Linked DNA regions of Homo sapiens: all the other regions are linked to region 3. Evidence: promoter capture Hi-C in human tissues and cell types (Jung and others, 2019). All regions are on one chromosome and are shown on one strand. Each heading gives the region's core, a stretch centred on a gene start or on the middle of the fragment in contact. The rest is flanking DNA. Distances are from core to core; before and after follow the strand shown.

Evidence for each region. The method cuts DNA at HindIII sites, captures the fragments that hold promoters and counts their contacts. A contact is called where the count stands out against the background at its distance.
Region 1: a fragment that was not itself captured here is called in contact with the fragment with the promoter of ADAMTS7 in region 3 in 4 of the 25 tissues and cell types used here (liver, mesendoderm cells, spleen and 1 more).
Region 2: a fragment that was not itself captured here is called in contact with the fragment with the promoter of ADAMTS7 in region 3 in 1 of the 25 tissues and cell types used here (IMR-90 fibroblasts).

What each region holds. Positions count from the first base shown.
Region 1 is chr15:78,662,655-78,665,682 of GRCh38, reverse strand. No RefSeq gene overlaps it. Among named protein-coding and RNA genes, the nearest start is that of CHRNB4, 23 kb to the right of the region's middle. The HindIII fragment of the contact is 6,536 bases long and covers 1-3,028 here.
Region 2 is chr15:78,578,039-78,580,996 of GRCh38, reverse strand. CHRNA5 (cholinergic receptor nicotinic alpha 5 subunit) reads right to left here. Exons shown (of 6, transcript NM_000745.4): 2 at 35-186. Among named protein-coding and RNA genes, the nearest start is that of CHRNA5, 14 kb to the right of the region's middle. The HindIII fragment of the contact is 3,216 bases long and covers 1-2,958 here.
Region 3 is chr15:78,809,518-78,812,713 of GRCh38, reverse strand. ADAMTS7 (ADAM metallopeptidase with thrombospondin type 1 motif 7) reads left to right here and starts at 1,250. Exons shown (of 24, transcript NM_014272.5): 1 at 1,250-1,593. The coding sequence starts at 1,494. RefSeq lists a silencer at 803-1,222. The HindIII fragment of the contact is 14,119 bases long and covers 1-3,196 here.

The DNA of each region.
Region 1 (3,028 bases), core at 99-2,598, 150 kb after region 3:
TGTCAGAATTACCTTCCTTTTTAAGGCTGAATAATAGTCCATTGTATGGATATACCAAATTTTGTTTATCCATTCATCTGTCTATGGACACTTGAGTTGTTTCCACCTTTTGGCTATTGTGAATAATGCTGCTGTGAACATGTGTGTGCAAACATAAAAGAAGTAACTTTTTGGCCAGGCACAGTGGCTCATGCCTGTACTCCCAGCACTTTGGGAGGCCGAGGTGAGCAGATCACCTGAGGTCAGGAGTTTGAGACCAGCCAGGCCAACATGGTGAAACCCCGTCTCTACCAAAAATGCAAAAATTAGCCAGATGCAGTGGTGTGCCTGTAATCCCAGCTACACGGGAGGCTGAGGCACAAGAACCGCTTGGACCTGGGAGGCAGAGGTTGCAGTGAGCTGAGATCACGCCACTGCACTCCAACCTAGGCGACAGAGTGAGACTCCATCTCAAAAAAGAAGTAACTTTTTACAATTAAAAATATGGTTACCAAAATAAAACTTGCTAGATGGCTTGGAAAATAAAATTGATGGAATGTCTAGAATGCAGACAAAACATAAAAAAGAAAAAAAAATACAAGAGGAGAAATAAAATACTTCAAGGACTGATTCAAGTTCAACCAACCAGTTGACACTCCAGAAAGAGAACAGAGAAAACAAAGGGCAAGGGGTTACCAAAGAAATAATAAAAGAAAATCTCCTAGAGCCATGGGTTAGCCGTGTTGAAGCCCAGCCATGTGTCATGCACCGTGTGGATACTGGAGCTACATACAACTGCCACATGGTGCTGAGAATCTTGGGAGAGAGAGACAGAAACAAAACACTTGCATAAATTAATGTGAAATTGTAGGTAGAATGCAGAGCGCAAAAGGAACCTATAAAAACTTAGGCCAAGGATAGCCTCCTGAGACAGGGACGTTCAAGTTCAGAAGTAACCAGGCAGGAGAGAATGGGAGAAGTTCTGGGCAAAGGGAACAGCATGTGCAAAGACTGTGTGGCCAGAGAGGGCATGATGAGTTTGAAGAGCTGAAAGAAGACCTGCGTGGCTGGAGCTAAGAAGAGGCTTCCTAGGTGGTGAGCAGGGGAGGAGGTGAGGGGTGGATCCAACCATGTCAGGCTTTGAGGGCCCAAGAGTGGTAAGAAGCCAGGTTTTAGAGACAAAAACAGGTCCCTAGGGAGACAGAAAATGCTTTCTATTCCTTCTGGACACCAAGAAACAAAGCACAAGTTAAATCCTCAGTAGCTACTCACTTCTCTAGTGCTGGATGGGACTTTCTGCTCCACTGCAAAGAGCTCAATCTGGCCCTGCCCTGTGCAGCACAAGGGGGCAAAGCTCCTTAGGCTAAATCACAGGTGCTTTGGTTTTTAAAACTTGACTGAAGGACTTGGGTGACTGATGGGTGAGCAAGAAGAAAGTTGTTTGGATTCATGGGTGCACATTTAGGCAGTTTCAATATTCCATGTGTGAGTGCGACTGTGATGCATATTGATGCATTCATTTTGCACATCTGATTATTTCTTCAGGATCTATTTCTAGAAATAAAAGTTCTGGTACAAACAGATGGGGCATTTTTAGGGCTTTGGCCCTACAGAACAGTTGTTCCAGTTTACAGCCCCAGCAGTGGATAAGTGTCTGTTTACTCAAACTCTTCCCTGTCCAGCTGTCATTATATCTTTTTTATCTCTGCCAATTCAGCAGGAAAAAGAGGTGTCTTGTGGTTTTAGTCCTCTCCTCCTCTTCCTCCTCCCTTTTTAAGACAGGGTCTCGCTTGGTCACCCAGGCAGGAATGCAGTGTCTCAATCATAGCTCACTGAAGCCTGGATTCAGGCAATCTTTCTGCCTCAGTCTCTGGAGTAGCTGGAACTACAGGTGTGCATCACCATGCCCAGCTAATTAAAAAAAATAAAAAAAACTTGAGAGTTTTTTGTTGTTGTTGTTGCAGTGGCTCATGCCTGTAATCCAAACCCTTTGAAAGGCTGAGGCAGGCAGCTTAAGTCCAGAACTTTAAGACCAGCACGAACCACATGGTGAATACACAAAATACAAAAATTAGCTGGTTGTGGTGATGTGCACCTGTAGTCCCAGCTACCTGGGAGGCTGAGGCAGAAGGATCGCTTGAGCCTGGGAGGCAGAGGTTTCAGTGAGCCATGATCGCGGCACTGCACTCTAGCCTGGGTGACAGAGTGAAACTGTCTCAAAAAAAAAAAAATTTTTTTTTTTTTTTTTGTAGGTATGGGGTTTCACTTTGCCGCCCAGGCTGGTGCTGGACTGCTAGCTCCAAGCAATCCTCATACCTCGGCCTCCCAAAGTGCTGGGATTACAGGCGTGAGTCACTGCGTTTGGCCACATTTCTTTTATTGTTCTCATGGTTACAGTTGTTTCATATATTTACTGGTCATTTCTACTTTTTTATTTTTTGAGATAGAGTCTTGCTCTGTCACCCAGGCTGGAGTGCAGTGGCGTGATCTCGGCTCACTGCAACCTCCGCCTCCCAGGTTCAAGAGATTGTCCTGCCTCAGCCTCCTGAGTAGCTGGGACTACAGGTGCCTGCCACCATGCCTGGCTAAGTTTTCTATTTTTAGTAGAGATGGGGTTTCACCATGTTGGCCAGGCTGGCCTTGAACTCCTGACCTCAGGTGGTCTGCCCACCTCAGCCCCCCAAAGTGCTGGGATTACAGGCATGAGCCACCACGCCCAGCCATATCTACTTATTTTTAAACTACATATTCATGCCCTGTGCCCATTCCTATTGGGAATATGTCTTTTTCCTATTGATTTGTACCGATATTAACTCCCTGTCTGACATACATTAAATTCTCCTGATTTATTTGCTTATTAATTTTATGACATTTTTATATCATAAATCTTTTTGCAGTCACGTTTCCAATCTTTCCTTTATGGTTTCTATTTCCATGTTAAACTTAGGATGGCCTCCCTCACGTTGACATTATATAAATGTTTTCTTCTATTTCATTCTATTTTCCTTGTTTATATTTAACTATTTGTCCCATTTGGAATTTATGTTAG
Region 2 (2,958 bases), core at 169-2,668, 230 kb after region 3:
GGGAAATTGACTATAGAAGGATATGCACACCTACCACATCCACCAATTGAGATATTGCAAGTCCAAATTTTATTTTTATTTTGTCATTCAGGTGTTCCACAGGACGAACCCATCTTTCGTAGTCTTGAAATAAATCCTTAAGCAAACTATCTTCATGTTTTGCAATAGAAGAAGGTTCAGATAATCCTGTATAACAAATTTTTAAAAGTTAATGTACTCGCTTCTCTCCCACCAGATACCTGTACTTTCAAACAAAAGTTCAAACCCAGGAGGCAAAGGTTGCAGTGAGCCAAGATCGGGCCACTGCACTCCAACCTGGGCCATGGAGAGAGACTCTGTCTCAAAAAAAAAAAGGAAAAAAAAAGTTCAGATTATTAATGAACCAAACTACAATTTAGGCTATTATTAATGCAGCTTTTAAAATGAAATATTAATGTAAGTATTTCTGATAGAATAAGGGACACTCTGGTTCAGATACGTCTCAGTTAAATCAGACTGACTATTGGAATATGCTGAGCTCCTTAAGAAACACTCAGTACTCAATACAGAATAGTTTCAAATCTAAATAATAAAAGCTTTTAAATTGCCAGGGTGGCAGGAGTTATCTTGAAATTCCAAACCTAGAAAACAGATATACTAAAGCAAAGCTCATTTATCAATTATAAATGTTAAAATTGCTTTAATTTGCATAATCTTTTTTTTTTTTTTTTTTTTTTTGAGACGGAGTCCTGCCTGGTCTCCCAGGCTGGAAGTGCAGTGGTGCAATCTCGGCTCATTGCAACCTCTGCCACTGGGATTCAAGCAATTCTCCACCTCAGCCTCCCGAGTAGCTGAGACTACAGGTATCCACCACCACGCCTGGCTAATTTTTGTATTTTTAGTAGAGACGGGGTTCCACCATGTTGGCCAGACTGGTCTTGAACTTCTGACCTTCAGCAATCTGCCCGCCTCAGCCTCCCATAGTGCTGGGATCACAGCTGTGAGCCACTGTGCCTGGCCTGTCATAATCTTAATATGAAAATATATAAATATTGAATGATTGATTTAGCTTTGACATACTTTGCTACTATATTTGTATAAAACTATACATTTGTATAAAACTGCTTTTTAGGGAATAAGGAAGGAAGAACTCGAAGATAGCAGATAGCATGCTGTCCTGGAAGCTAAATGAAGAAAATGCAGCAAGAAGGGTTGAGCCTCCCAATCTACTGATGCTACTCATGAGACATGGAGAGGCAGCTGAGAACTGAGTGTTGGATTAGCAACAGTGAGGTCAATGGTGAATCTAACAAAAGCCATCTATGGGAAGAGAAGAGAGATGAACTGCAGTATGTTTAAGACAGAGTGCAAAGACAGGAATGATCTCTTTCCAAAAGTTATGCTGATATAGGGATACTGAGGATAAAGAATCAAGAAAGGTTTATTTCAAGATCAGTAAAAAAAATAAATAGGCGGTGGCTCACGTCTGTAATCCCAGCACTTTGGGAAGCTGAGGCGGACAGATTACCTGAGGTAAGGAGTTCGAGACGAACCTGGCCAACATGGTGAAACCCTGTCTCTACAAAAAATACAAAAATTAGTCAGGCATGGTGGCACACGCCTGTAATCCCAGCTACTTGGGAGGCTGAGGCAGGAGAACTGCTTGAGCCCGGGAGACAGAGGTTGCAGTGAGCCGAGATTGTGCCACTGCACTCCAGCGTGGCCAACAGAGCGAGACTCTGTCTCAAAAAACAAACAAACAAACAAACAAACAAACAAATAATAAATAAATAAATGTATGTATATGTGAGAATGTGAACATGGTTGGCTAAATAATTCACAGGGCCCAATGTAAAATGAAGATGAGGAATTCCCGTTCAAAAATCAGGAAACATGTGCCATTAAATATACTAAAAAGAAACTTGTTTCTTCAAAAAAATCTATTTAAGGACCTAAGTTGTTAAAAAAAAAAAAAAAGTCAAAATATAAAATGTTTTGGATACTATGGCCAAAGACTGGTTAGATTTGGGGATCACAGTTATGCTTATGCTACTACAGAGCTCAAATAAGCATCTCTGAAGAAATGAGTTTTCACTGTTGTCTGGCCTGGGATCACTTAAGGAAATGTGAAATGTATAAAAATTCAAGCATGACTTTTACTTAAGACTAATGATATTACGAAAAAACCACTTTTACTTGAAACAAAAATGTCACTGGCTTATTAATCAGCAAATATACACATAAGGATTACAGTAGCAAGTGATTGTTCTTCTCCAACCTAAAAGAAATGGTTGGAGAGAAATTAGCACTTTCACAAAATCTTCTCTTTATGATGATAGACCATGTTTTCCATACAGAGATATGAAAGAATATCCAGGTACTCTAGCTGGAGGAAACCTATTTCCTGGTTCTCTTTTTCATAAATAACCTACTCCTCAAGAGTTTGTGTCCTGCTTCCCTGAATAACTAGTTTAATTTTAAAAAATTATTTATTTTTTATTTATTTATCTTGAGACGGAGTCTCACTCTGTCACCCAGGCTGGAGTGCAGTGGTGTGATCTCGGCTCACTGCAACCTCCACCTCCCAGGTTCAAGTGATTCTCTGTCTCAGCCTCCCGAACAGCAGGGACCACAGGCACACGCCACCACGCCTGGCTAATTTTTGTATTTTTAGTAGAGATGGGGTTTCACCCTACTGGTCAGGCTGGTCTTGAACTCCTGACCTTAGGTGATCCACCCGCCTCGGCCTCCCAAAGTGCTGGGATTACAGGCGTGAGCCACTGCGCCAGGCAGTAACTAGTTTAAGATACTTAGTTTAATCTACAAATACTATGGAGTTTGTGTGGTGACGCCTGTAAAAGTCACCTTATGCTGAAATGCACAGCATTGAAGATATTTAGATTAATTTAGAAAATTATACACTAGAGTCATTCTTAATGTTTAAAAGCCATTAATTTTAGAGCTTCAAGTTAAAATAGC
Region 3 (3,196 bases), core at 1-2,500:
GAAGTAGGTGAAGCCAGGAGGGGCTGGTAGGTTGGGCGAAGAGGAAGGTATCAAGGGACTGGAGGAAGAGCAATACATAGTGGGACTGTGAAGGTGGAAAGGACTGCAGAGTCGGGTCTGACAGGGGGGCACCTGAGCTTCGGATTTCCAAGATGGAGCAGTTCTGAGGGATGACACAGCCCAGGCTTTGGCCCTGAGACCTGATGGCTGAGGTGGAGTGGAAGGTCACTGGAGATGAGATGGAGGAAGTAGGTGACCCTGTACTACACAAATTCCCTAGAGGACAGACAGGTTGAGGGTGGAGAGGAAGCCAGAAGTGAGCTTCCAGGAATTGAATGAAAGGGCCCAGGAGATTGGACAATGAGGAGGTGTGCGGGCCTCAGAGGGCAGGGGGCACACAAAGACTAACCAAGGGGAGGAAGCTGACCGCAACCGCCCCGAGGACAAGACGGGCGTCCTCGGTACAGGGCCATGTTTAGTGACGGCAGAAGGGAGAAAGGAAGCTCCTGGGAGCACAGGGGGAAGGGGAGCCGGAAGCCAGAGCCAGGGCTGGGGCCACGAAGGACAGACGGCCGGTGTTGGAGGCGGAGGCTGGCCTGGGATGTGAGGCTGGGGTTGGCCGGCCTCCAGGCTCCCCGGGAGCCCCTGCTGAAAGTCTGTGGGCGCTGGCCTGGGCGAAGCCGCGGTCCCCCGCCTGTGGGCTCAACTCTGCGCTCTGCTTCAAGCAAACGCACTAGGAGAGGAGTCAGGAGACGAGGAACTGCGGGGCCCCACCTCGCGCGGGCAACCGCTGTCTGTCCAGGGAGGGCCCAGGCCTGTCTCCGCAGATAGCTTTGAAGCAGGGCCCCCGGTGTGGCCCTCTGGAGGCCTCCCGCGTCCCCTTTTGAGGGGCTGCCCTGCTTGGCCTGGGGAACACAGCGAAGGGCACCTCGTGGAGCCCAATTTAGGGACAACACATTAATTCTGGAAATTCCAGATTCTTTCCGGGGGTCCTCAACCGGCCGGGGTCGGAAAGGCCTGGCAGGGCTCCGCCGGCAGGGGGCGCTCGGGACAGGGGGGCGAGGGGGGCGGACATCCGTTGCGGGGCGCTGCCTGCGCCGGGCCGGCCAGCCCTTGAGGCGAGCACGGCCTGCGGGGCCGATGAGGCCGGGGCCGGCCGGGGCGGGGCGGGGCCAGGGGCGGGGGAAGGAGTCCGAGGGGCGGGGCGGGGGCCGGCAGCCGCCCTCCCTCACTCTCCCTCCCTTTCTTTCTTTCTTTCTTTCTCTCCTTCTAGCTCTCTTGTCTTTTCTTTGCCTCTGCAGCGGCCAAGGGGGCGGGCCCTGCAGCCTTTGTTGCCCGCGGACCGAGCGCAGCCGAACGGAGTCGGGGCCGGGTCGCCGGGAGCTGCACGCCGGCCGGGCATGTCCTGAGCCGGACCTGGGACCAGGCAGCGACCGGACGGGACGGACGAGAGCGTGCGCGCGGGGTCACCCGGCGGCCGCCCGGTTCCTGCCATGCCCGGCGGCCCCAGTCCCCGCAGCCCCGCGCCTTTGCTGCGCCCCCTCCTCCTGCTCCTCTGCGCTCTGGCTCCCGGCGCCCCCGGACCCGCACCAGGTGGGTGTCCGCCCCTCCCCGGCCAGCCGGGCCTGCCACCCCTTCCCGCTCCCCCAGTCTCGGTTTTGTCCCTCCTCACCTTTGTGGACCCCGCGCCGGCTCCGCTGTGCCTGGAGTTGGTCGCGTCTTCCGCTCCCTGGGTATTAGGGGACAGTAGTCGGGGTCGGGCCGGGCCGGGAGCGAAGCCGCGCTTCTGGGGAAACTTCCTCGGCCCCTGATTCAGTTACTGACACTGCCTGTCGCCTGGAATAAGCCCCTTCCGCTCTTCGGGCTCCGGTTTCCCCACCTCGGGTGCAGCAACGCGCCTGGCTCCCGGGAGAGCTCTCGTCCGAGTGGGCTGGACGGAGCGCGGTTTACCCACTGAGGATTTGGTTTCTCACACTCCTTAGCGAGGCTCGCCTGGAAAGCGGGCTGGCCGGGACACAGCCGGCGAGGGCGCCAGGTCGCAGGTCTTCGCGGGACCCCGCCGCCCCCCCAGCTCCCGCCCACCGCATCTGGGCTGCTGGCGCGGCCCCTGGCGGCTCGGGGGGCCGGGTCTTGCGCGGTCCTTGCACTTCCTGCCTCTCCCTTCCCCAAGTGTGAAGACGCCGGGAGTGGAGCGGGGAGCAGGAGCTTCTTTTCCCGGCCATGGGTTAACTCTCCCCGCCCCGCCGGGCCGGCCTCCGACGAGCCTCTGGCCTGCGTCCAGACTCTTGTTTGGCGGCGACCTGCCGGGCGGCCGCGCTGCTGGCGCGTCCGACGCAGCCGGCCTGGGAATTCAGTAACCGAGGATGTAGGAGACCCCAGGCCCGGTGCTCAGGGAGCTCCCAGTCAGGGGAGCCGGTGGATAGTGGGGAGAGTCCTGCAATAGAGCCGACCGGCAGGCTTTGTAGGAGAGGAGGGGCATGAGGTTGGAGAGACTGGAAGGATGGATGGATTCTGGATGAGCTAGAAGGGCGTGGAGGGAGTGGGGCCCTCCCCTGGGGAGCATCAGTCGGGGGACTGGATTAGGGTTGCTTGCTGGGATGGGGTCGACCTGCCTCCCCACTGGAGGGATTGTGACGAGAAAGTAGTCTGGGCGGGAAGGATGGGGACATTGACTCTTGATCTTAGAGGTTTGGGAAGCCGTTGAGGGGAGCAGCTGATGAAAGCAGTGTTTTGGAAAGATTTGGTCTAGCAGCCATGCGCAGAGCGCAGAGGGAGCGAACATTTAATGAGCACCTACTGTGTGCCAGCCTCACGGGTTCTTATTTCTCATCATCTCCACAACAACCGTGCAAAGCAAGTGATGGAAAGTCCTTTTATGGACCAGCAAACAGGCTCAGAGTAGAGCGACCTGTGGGGTTGGACTCCTGAGCTTCCTGAATGAGGCTTGTGTTTTCCACTGTCCAGAGCTGGGGGCTGAGGAGGATGAACCGGGCGATGGGAATGGGAGAGCAGGAAAATGCTTCCCTCAGGACTTGGGTCCTGGCCCCCTGGCAGCTGTGGGAAGAGTTGGGTGCGGTCAACCTCGTGGGATTCTTATGAGGATTAAATGAGATATTGAATATGTCAGTTGCTCAGGCAGGACACAGTGACTACAATGTAGTGGTCATTATTTTTATTAATCTGCCAGGCCGACCCA